3 separate regions of the Homo sapiens genome follow, and regions 1 and 3 are each linked to region 2. The links are contacts of gene promoters, found by promoter capture Hi-C in blood cells and fetal thymus (Javierre and others, 2016). All regions are on one chromosome and are shown on one strand. Each heading gives the region's core, a stretch centred on a gene start or on the middle of the fragment in contact. The rest is flanking DNA. Distances are from core to core; before and after follow the strand shown. Region 1 overlaps ANKRD44 (ankyrin repeat domain 44). Region 2 holds the start of MOB4 (MOB family member 4, phocein). Region 3 overlaps ANKRD44 (ankyrin repeat domain 44).

Region 1 (3,364 bases), core at 687-3,186, 510 kb before region 2:
CGTGGGTCCCTGTAGTCCCAGCTACTTGGGAGGCTGAGGCAGGAGAATGGCGTGAACCTGGGAGGCAGAGCTTGCAGTGAGCCCACATTGCGCCACTGCACTACGGCCTGGGCGACAGAGCAAGACTCCATCTCAAAAAGAAAGAAAGAAAGATATCATGATGCAGCAGTAAACATGAGTTTTAGAATCAGGAAGATCTAAGTGAAATCTTGGCACCCCTGTGACAGGTCAGTTCGCCTCTCCATCCCTCACTCTATTCACCTATATATAAGAATAGTAATAACAACTTCAGAGGACGTTGTGAGGACTGAGATAACAGATGCAAAGGCTCTCAGCTTGTTGTACAGCACACAGGAAGCAACTGAGAAATAAAAACTATGACTGTGACAATGATCACATAGCGTTCCTCTTCTCTTCATTTATCAGTGTACTTGGTACCAGCCCAAAATAGCAATTTTATGATTTCTGCTTGTGTTTACTTAGTTTATTTGGCATGCTTTAAAAAACAGTTCAGAGGGTGCAAGTGGCTAATGCCTGTAATCCCAGCACTTTGTGAGGTGGAGGCAGGAGGATCACTTGAGCCCAGCAGTTTGAGACCTGCCTGGGCAACATGGCAAAACCCCATCTCAACAGAAAATACAAAAATTAGCTGGGCATGCTGGCATGCACCTGTGGTCCCAGTTACTGGGGGGAGTTGAGGTGGGAGGATCATTGAGCCTGGGAGGTGGAGGTTGCAGTGAGCTGAGATTGTGCCACTACACTCCAGCCTGGGTGATAAGAGTGAGATTAAAAAAAAAAAACCAAACACTTCAACAGATGTGTGCAAATAATTGCCCACAGGATACATATTTTGGCATTATTTGTAAGGACAAACAATTAGAAATTGCATAACTACTGAAAACCAGGTAATCATTGAAATAAACTATGACACTTGAACACAATGAGGCATTAAAAATCATGATGCAGAAAAAAATGAAATGAAAAAAGATCCTTGATATACTAAGAGAAAAAAGCAGAATCCAAATGATATCTTCAGTATTCTCTTTTTAAAATCTAAAACAAATCTATATATAGAAAAAAGATTGGAGATAATATACATCAAATAGTGGTTATCTCCAGGAGGTATGATTACTGGTGATTGTGATTTTCTTCTCTGGGCTTTAAAAAAAAATATTCTGCAAATTTTCTATGATATACTTGTATTTTGTAGTCAGAAAGCAGAACCAATTTCACCAGCAGTAGGTGTTCATGCATCTATTATCACAATCTAACATGAAATCTTAAGAGCAAAACCTTCCATTATTTTGCCTTTGCCAAGGATTTTGTAATTTCTTTTGGACTGAATAAGGTTAATTGGTTGTATTAGGAAACAATTTTTGCTAAACATTTTTTGCTAAAAATCCAATCAAAGTAGGCCCTTTGTAATTGTTTGCTAAAAAAGAAAACAAGCTCATTAAAAAAATTGCTTGACTAGAGCTGAGAAAGATGTACATACCCCTCTGTGTAAAGCTGTGCATCCTAGGATGTCAACAGTGTCTACGTTGGCTTCCTTTTCAAGTAACAATGAAACAGCGTCAATATGTCCATATGCTACTGCAAGCATCAGTGGTGTTCTAGGCAGAGAGATAAAGCAGGCTTTTAAAAAGGAGATTTAAAAAAATATTCATCACTACCAGTAGGAAGACATTCTCTTTCTCCCATTCTCTTCCCCTCTCCTTTTGACAATTTCTTAATATTTTCTAAGTGTCCCCAGTTTGCTATACAATATGCAGAACAAGCTATCTGCCTCTGCTCTAATGGCCACATGGAATGTTGTTAGTGGAATGATCCCTAGGGATGAGGCAGGGGAAGCTTCCTTTTCAAAATATTCATGTTAATCCCATCATTTTCAGATCCATGTAGCATTTACTAGATATCAAGGGCGGGGAGTATGTGTATGCAGAAGCCCCTCTTGCTTCCATCAGAGCAGCTCTACTTTGTAGTATTCTATGTTGGACTTCTGCTAAAGATTTCATTTACACAAAGCTTCTTTCCCTAAAGAAAAGTCTGTCAAGTCTCCGGGAAAGAATGAAGTGTTGTGATGCAAGAGGGAGGTGAGATTCTGACTATCACACTGATTCACATGCCTGGGGCTAGTCACTGCTGACTTTTGCTCTGCATTTCCTATTTGTAAGAGAAGATTAGGTGGGGAATATGCCAACAGAAGGAAATTACTTTGAAAAAGCAAAGTTGAGGAAGAAAAGGCATCTGAAGGATTTTAATAATAGAGATAACCTCATGAGGTCTGTCCTATTTATTAATTAGAAAATGGCAATGGTGTAGCAGCTTCAGAAGAAGGTAAAAATGGGCGGAAAGAGGGAACAAAGGAGAGAATATAAATAAGAGCCGGGAAACATGGCCACAGCCCTTAAAAAGGTGATCCTTTCATCAAGACATGTGCACACCCACTCCTTCATGCTTTTCTTGGATATACGCACTGTGACTTAAAGCCACCTCATTGTGTATTGGTCCTGGTCCAAATATATTCCTCCAATTTCTCGGTTCCGCAGTCAGCCTTGTAATGATTTAAGAAACCAACCAGGTAGCTGCTGTGATTGAAATGTCAACCCAAGGCCACGTGTGAGCGCACTTACTGTCCTTTGGCATCTTTCACATCGACCGCCTCCGGGTTGTCTGCAATTTCTAGCAACAGCCGTAAACACAGTGTGTGACCATTAATTACTGAAAAAGAAAACAGTGGACAGTCTTTTAACAGAACAACACTACACATATCTCTTCCAAATGACTTTTTCTTTTTTTTGAGATGGAGTCTTGCTCTGTCGCCAGGCTGGAGTGCAGTGGGGCGATGTCATCTCATTGCAATCTCCACCTCCCAGGTTCAAGCTATTCTCCTGCCTCAGCCTCCTGAGTAGCTGGGATTACAGGCATGCACCACCATGCCTGGCTAATTTTTGCATTTTTAGTAGAGACAGGGTCTCACCATCTTGGCCAGGCTGGTCTCGAATTCCTAGCCCCAGGTGATCCGCCAGCCTCGGCCTCCCAAAGTGCTGGGATTACAGGCATGAGCCACCAAGTGACCTTCTGAGACAGAATCTCACTCTGTCGTCCAGGCTGGAGTGCAATGATATGATCTTGGCTCACTGCAACCTCCGCCTCCCGAGTTCAAGTGATTATTCTGCCTCCCGAGTAGCTGGGATTATAGGCATGCACCACCACACCCGCTAATTTTTGCATTTTTAGTAGAGATGGGGTTTCACCATGTTGCCTAGGCTGGTCTTGAACTTCTGGGCTCAAGCAATCTGACTGCCTTGGCCTCCCAAAGTGCTGGGATTACAGGCATGAGCCACCGTGCCTGGCCCCAAGT
Region 2 (3,003 bases), core at 237-2,736:
AGGTGTATAGGAAACAAATGCATTTCACATTTAAACTTAGGTTCCATCCCCAAGAAATCTCATTATGTATATGCAAATATTCTAAAATCCAAAATAATCAGAAATCTGAAAGTGTTTTGGTCCCAAACTTTAAGATGAGGGGTACTTAACCTGTATAAGAATTTGTGATTTGCACGTCTCTGTTGCTGGAGTCAAGGCAATTTGTAGTGAAGGACTGAGCCTTATCATACTTGTACATTAGTGCCTACCATATAGTGGGGCTTAATGAGTATCTGTTGAACGAATAATCTTTTCATATGTAGACGCTGGTTCTGGGAGGGCAAAATTAAGTCCCTATTCTTGAAGAGTTACCAGTCAATACATCTTCCAGAGAGAACCAACTTCCTGTTGTTAAACCCTTCAATGCCTAGTTCTAAGTCACTGACAATTACTCAGCTAGAGACCCACTCAACCTCTCCTCTCCTCTCAAATTCCATTTCTGGAAGCTGTTACATGGCCCTTCCCTCAGCATTCTCAATACACCTTCTATCTAGGGACACTTGATGTTTTCTTCTTTTGGAAATCATGCTACTGTATGCGTTTTTTACTTTTTGAACTGTCTTCCCATCTGCTATCCCAAGGCCTCCCTCACCCCAGATAAAAGATTCAAGGTTTCTAAGCAGGAAAAAAAGTTTGCGAAAATGCTGTGGTTTCTTAAGAGAGAACACTTAAAATTTGCAACAAAGGAAATGTGGAATCCTGTAAGATGTAAAACCCTCACCACCTGTCAAGGACTACTAATTTCCTCCTCCTGCTTCTGACTTGAAAAACACGAGCTAAATCTGTCTGCCTAACGCACAAAACCAGATGTCCACTCTTCATCTCACATAATTGACATCTGCGTCTTTTATCTACGTAAACAAACTTGTCATTGAAAAAGTCCTTGGCTTTGAAGTCGCCGGATGGCGTAAATAACACTGACACTCAAATCCCCCGTCTGATTTCAGATTGGGTCGATTTCACGCAGGTTCTATAGAATTTGCCAAGACTGCTGGCCTGTTTTCTACCCTGATTCCTTAGGTGGCTTCTGGGACAGAATTACGGTTCTCTAAGTATTTGCTTGCAGGTGGGTTTACTGAAACGGTCGCCACTATACGAAGTTCGTTCTTCCCGTGTAACTAACGAGAGCCCATACCAACGTGCAACGCAGCCGTGCACACTGCCGCAGCGGTCGCTGCGATCACGACCTTTCAAACCGCCCCGCAGCCCTCGCAAAGAGGCTCGTGGCGCCCGCCTTCCGGTGCCTCAGTCCCTGCCAGTAGCCACCCGACGCCGTCCGGCTGTTCCTCGTTCGCCCTCTCCCTCCGCCTAGCCCGCTTCTACCCGGACGGCTCCCGGCGCAGGCTGCAGCTGTTCCGTCAGCTGCCGCTCCTCCTCCCAGACGCAGAGCGCCGCTCTGCCCCGCCCCCCGCGCAGGCTGCCGTCCCTACATCCGGGTACCGACTCCAGCCGCCTAGACGCTGGCACTATGGTCATGGCGGAGGGGACGGCAGTGCTGAGGCGGAACAGGCCGGGCACCAAGGCGCAGGTACCATGTCTGCACTTTTCTTGTCGGGCAACTAGGTGCCGAGCAGTGCTGCGCCCGGAAGCTGGCCGCCACTGCGGGGAGGTTGGGCCGAGGCGGCAGGCGGGCGGGCTGGGGCACTGGTGCCCGGCCTGCTCTTCCGGAGCTGCAGCCCCTCAATTTGGCTGAGGCGGTGGCGGCCGCCGTGAGGCCTGCGGAGCTCCGACCCAGGGGTAGGCGTGAGGGGCGGGTGGGGTCTGCTGGTGGTACCTGCCTGCCGAAGCCCTGGGCTGCGAGCCTGTCAGCAGCAACGGCTTCTTCTCGCCTTGCCCCTGAGCCCCAGCTGACTAGCATTGGAGGGGCGCGACCAGCCTGGTGGAGACCCCCGGGGTTTCCTGAAGGTCGGGGCCGCTGAGGTGGGAGGGGGTGTAAACACAGCCTACCTCGACCCGGCGTCCAGTTCCTACCTGGCCTGGGAAGTACCTACCCGTTTCCTGCCATCCAGCTTGTCTAGCCGGATCCGGGTGCCGATATTCTCCTCCTTGTTTCCCTTTGACCACCTCTCCCTGCCGCTTTCCCTGGAGCTGTTCTCTGGTCCAGCAAGTTTTCATCACTAAGTTGTGACTTGTTAGATGTCATTCCTTGCTAATATGCGTGAAGCATAGTCAGAGAATGAACTGATTATAATTTTGTCAGCTTTTTTGTAGGGCATTATGTGTGGTAAATTGGTGCTTGATTAGGCATTGTTTCTTAGGGTTTGGAAAAGATGGGATGCCTCACATTAAAAATAAATAAATAAAATTGGCATCCAGACTTGAACTGATTAATTGCTAGCCGAAATGGCTTGCTATAGACTAGATGCTCTGAAATCGGAAGAGATGTGTTTATAAAATGTTAAAAAGTGATGCAAATGAAAATTGAAACAAAACAATCGTGGAGCTATGATTGTATGTCTGAGAATAGATTTTAATTTCTTATACAGAATTATGGAAAGAACACCTTTCGAAGGGGGCATACAGGTATTGATTACCTCCCCAGATTCATGTTACAGATAAGGAAACTGAAGCCCAAGAGAATTAAGTGGATTTGCCCAAGGATACATAGTCTCCTGATTCTTAATTCACTGGTGACCTGTTCTCTTTAACAAGCTGCTTCTAGTGCTGAATTTCAGAGAAAATTTTAAAGTCTTATTTTGGAGTCACATTAAGCTGTCAGTTATTCCTACTGACAGTTTTGTTTTCATACTACTGGAAATTTATCCGTTACATATGCTTGCTTTTTACCGTTTCCACACTTTTCTTCCTCATGCTCTTTTCTCAGATACCTTTACATCTTATTCTGTGGAAACATTGTTTCTGATTACATTTTTATGTTCAGAAGTAGACTTTTCTGTTCATATTCTGAGAGTCATCTCATTTATTCATAAGTTCTTAATTTTGAAAGGTTAGAAAATAAAATAT
Region 3 (3,311 bases), core at 407-2,906, 440 kb before region 2:
AATAGGAGTGGTATAAGAAGACATCCTTGACTTAGTCTTTTACCGTTAAGTAAATTAGCTGTTCTTTATCAAGTTGTTACATGCTCTTTATCAAGTTGAGGAAGTTCCCCTCTATCTAATATTTCTAGGAGAGTTTTTTGTTGTTGTTGTTGTTGCTTGCTTGTTTTATTGTCTTGAAGTGCTCAATGTTATCAAAAGTGTTTTCTGCATTGGTTGATATAAATCTGATTTTTCTTCTTTAGCCTGTTAATACAGTGAATTACACTGACTGATTTTCAAATATTGAAACAGGCTTGCATCCCTGTAATAAATTCCATTAGTCATGGTATATAATTCTCTGCATGTATCACTGAATTCTATTTGGTAATTTGTAAAGATTTTTGCATTCATGTTCATGAAAGACATTGTGCTCGCTCTCGCTCTCTGTGTGTGTGTGTGTGTCTTTGGTACTTAATATCAAGGTATTACCTTCATAAATGAATTGGAAAGTATTCTCTTGTATTCTATTTTCCAGAAAAGACTGTGTAGAATTATGTTAATTCTTTAAGTATTTGGTAGAATTCTCCAGTGAAATCATCCATGCCTGGAAATTTCTTTAGGGGAAGTTTTAAAATTTAATTTTCTGAATAGTTAAAGGGCTATTCAAATGATCTACTTCATACTGGGTAAATGGTGGTAGTTTGTGTTTTTCAATGAATGAGTCTATTTTATCAAGTTGTCAATGTATGCAGAGTTATTCATAATATTCCTTTATCCTTTTAATATCTGTAAGGTATATGGGGATATCCCCTATTTCATTCCTGATATTGTTAATTTATGTTTCCTCTCTCTTTTTCTTAGCTACACGTTTGTCAATGTTACTGATTTTTCAAAGAACCAGATTTTTGTTTCATTGAATTTCTTCACTGGTTTTCAATTTCATTTATTTCTGCCTCCATCTTTATATCAATTTTCTGCTTATTTTGAGTTTAATTTGCTCTCTCCAGATTCTTGAGGTAGAAGCTTAGATTACTGACTTGAGACTTTCCTCTTTTCTGATGTAACCATTTTGTGCTAAAAATTTCTTTCTCAGCATAATTTAGCTGAGTCCCCAAATTTCACTTTGTTGTACTTTCATTTTCATTCAGTCCAAGATATTTTTTGAATTTCTCTTGAGGCTTTCCTTTTAACTCATGAATTATTTACAAGTCTGGTTTTAATTTCCTAGTGTTGGAGATTTTCCTGGTATCTTTCTGTTATTGATTTCTAGTTTTATCCCATTATGGCTAGAAAACACGCTCTATATGATTTCAATTCTTTTATGTTTTTTGAATTTTGTTTTATGGTTCAAGATATTGCTTATCTTTGTGAATGTTCATGGGCACTTGAACTAAATATGTATTCTCATGTTGCTGGGTAGAGTGTTCTTATTGTTGATCAGATCCTCTTGGTTGATTATGTTATTGAGTTTTTCTATATACTTGACAATTTTCAGTCTCATTGTTCTACCAATTGTTGAGAGAGAGGTGCTAAAGTCTCCCACTATAATTGTGTATTTCTGTTTATCTTTTCAATTCTAACAGTTTTTGCTTCACATATATTGTAGCTCTGTTGTTTGGGGCATACATATTTAGGACACTCTCCTTGAGTGGGGTTCCAACCCTTACTAGGCTGCCTTCCTGACTTCCCTCCTGCGGCCTCAGTGCCAACTGGGCTGCCTTCCTGCTCTGCTCAGGCTTCCCTAGTGGGTTTGTGACTGAGAGGGAGGGAGGGATGGAGGGAGGAAAGAAGGAAGGAAGGAAGGAAGGAAGGAAGGAAGGAAGGAAGGAAGGAAGGAAGGAAAAGGAAGAAAGGAGGAGGGAGGGTAGGGGGAGGAAAGGAGGGTGGGCCAGATTAACTTATTTTTTTGGTTGACTTGTAAACTGCCTTCTCTTTAAAACAAAAAATCTTCCTTTTTCTGACATCACTGAGTCCTTAGAAGTTTCCACATCAGAAGCAATAATTCCTATTCCTTGAACCTCTTAGTGCTCCCTATCCATCTGGAAGAAATTACAGAGAAATGTGTGCACATATGTGTATGTGTGTGTATGTGATGTCTTTATACCAGTTTGACATGTTAGTATAGGTTTTTATTGAAGAAGAAAACATGGAGGACCAGTTGCAATAAAATGAGCTGGTATTGGAAAGTAATCAAATCTAAAGAAAAGTCCAGGCCACAGAAAGGCAAATTTTCATTTCTTTTCTCACCTGCCATCTTCTATGAAATACCTTCCTAACAAACAGGACAGTTGCTATATACTTAAAAATTAGCATTGATGTTTTATCACTAAATAAAGCTTAGTCACTCACAGTGTATTTCACTTGTTCAACAACTTTTGGCACCTGATAAGTGCCTGACAGTATTAGAACCTAATGCCTTATAAGTTGATATTTAAATCCGCAAATGTTTAAAGGATAATAGTTTATTTTTCCTTAGAGCTCAGCATTAATTTTTTCCTGAAACAATGACTAAGTGTTTAGCTATTTACTGAACCAGCGAGTCATGGATATAATCAAATAATACATTTATTCTCTTTTTCCCTATACTAGGTCCGATCTCCTTTATGAGGTTACTTCTTTTCCTGCCACTTCATGCAAAATCTCCAACAAATAATAAAGAGTTCTCTAGGCACTTTAGTTTAAAACATAACTTCATGTCAGCAATCAATACATCTGTTCCAGTATGACAATCACAGACTCCTAACATTGTTAAACTTATTAAAACTCCTTCCCGCCTTCCCCTAAAGACTGAGTGGGTAACGAGACATGGCTGACTTCTCTGTTCCCCAACCTAGGGCTTCTCCTCCTCCTCATCTGCCTCTGCCTCCTCCAGTTCTAAAGGGGATAGGCAAAGGAAGACACATTAGGAGCAGGGACAATGGTCTGACTGGCACCCTTCTGGCAGTGATGTCTTCTGACCAGGCCAGATGTTTACAATTGTCCCTCTCTTAGATGCTGAATTAGGTTCTCCACCATCACTGGGGTGTCTCACCTGCAGTGCCTCTGCCTGGGTGAATGGACCTTCCTGCTGGTAACTTATATTCCCCTCTCCACACTAGGAATCCTGGGTCTCCTGACTCTTCCACGCAGCCTTCCCGAGTGGGATCAAGGAGAACCCCAGGCTAGCTCTGGCCCTTGGCTCACATTTGGACATTGGGAAATATATACTTTGACCCATCATTTCTGAGAGTGGAGTGATTTCCCAAACACAGCCTTCTTCTTATTTAGCTGCCTGGCCAGCAAGTTCTGGTCAGAGCCATTTAGTCTTCAGATTTATCATATACCAGTCTGGC

The links. The method cuts DNA at HindIII sites, captures the fragments that hold promoters and counts their contacts. A CHiCAGO score of 5 or more calls a contact.
Region 1: a contact is called between a fragment that was not itself captured here and the fragment with the promoter of MOB4 in region 2, in 2 of 17 cell types (total B cells and total CD4 T cells). The highest score is 5.9, in total B cells.
Region 3: a contact is called between a fragment that was not itself captured here and the fragment with the promoter of MOB4 in region 2, in 1 of 17 cell types (total CD4 T cells). The highest score is 5.8, in total CD4 T cells.

Annotation. Positions count from the first base shown.
Region 1 is chr2:197,006,311-197,009,674 of GRCh38, forward strand. ANKRD44 (ankyrin repeat domain 44) reads right to left here. Exons shown (of 28, transcript NM_001195144.2): 19 at 2,634-2,721; 20 at 1,496-1,613. Among named protein-coding and RNA genes, the nearest start is that of PGAP1, 81 kb to the left of the region's middle. The HindIII fragment of the contact is 174 bases long and covers 1,850-2,023 here.
Region 2 is chr2:197,514,580-197,517,582 of GRCh38, forward strand. It overlaps MOB4 (MOB family member 4, phocein), which reads left to right and starts at 1,487. Exons shown (of 8, transcript NM_015387.5): 1 at 1,487-1,567. The coding sequence starts at 1,508. The region is part of intron 2 of HSPE1-MOB4 (HSPE1-MOB4 readthrough); the gene reads left to right. RefSeq lists a silencer at 1,326-1,545. The HindIII fragment of the contact is 18,120 bases long and covers 1-3,003 here.
Region 3 is chr2:197,070,281-197,073,591 of GRCh38, forward strand. All of the region lies in intron 16 of ANKRD44 (ankyrin repeat domain 44), which reads right to left. Among named protein-coding and RNA genes, the nearest start is that of ANKRD44-AS1, 130 kb to the right of the region's middle. The HindIII fragment of the contact is 1,313 bases long and covers 1,001-2,313 here.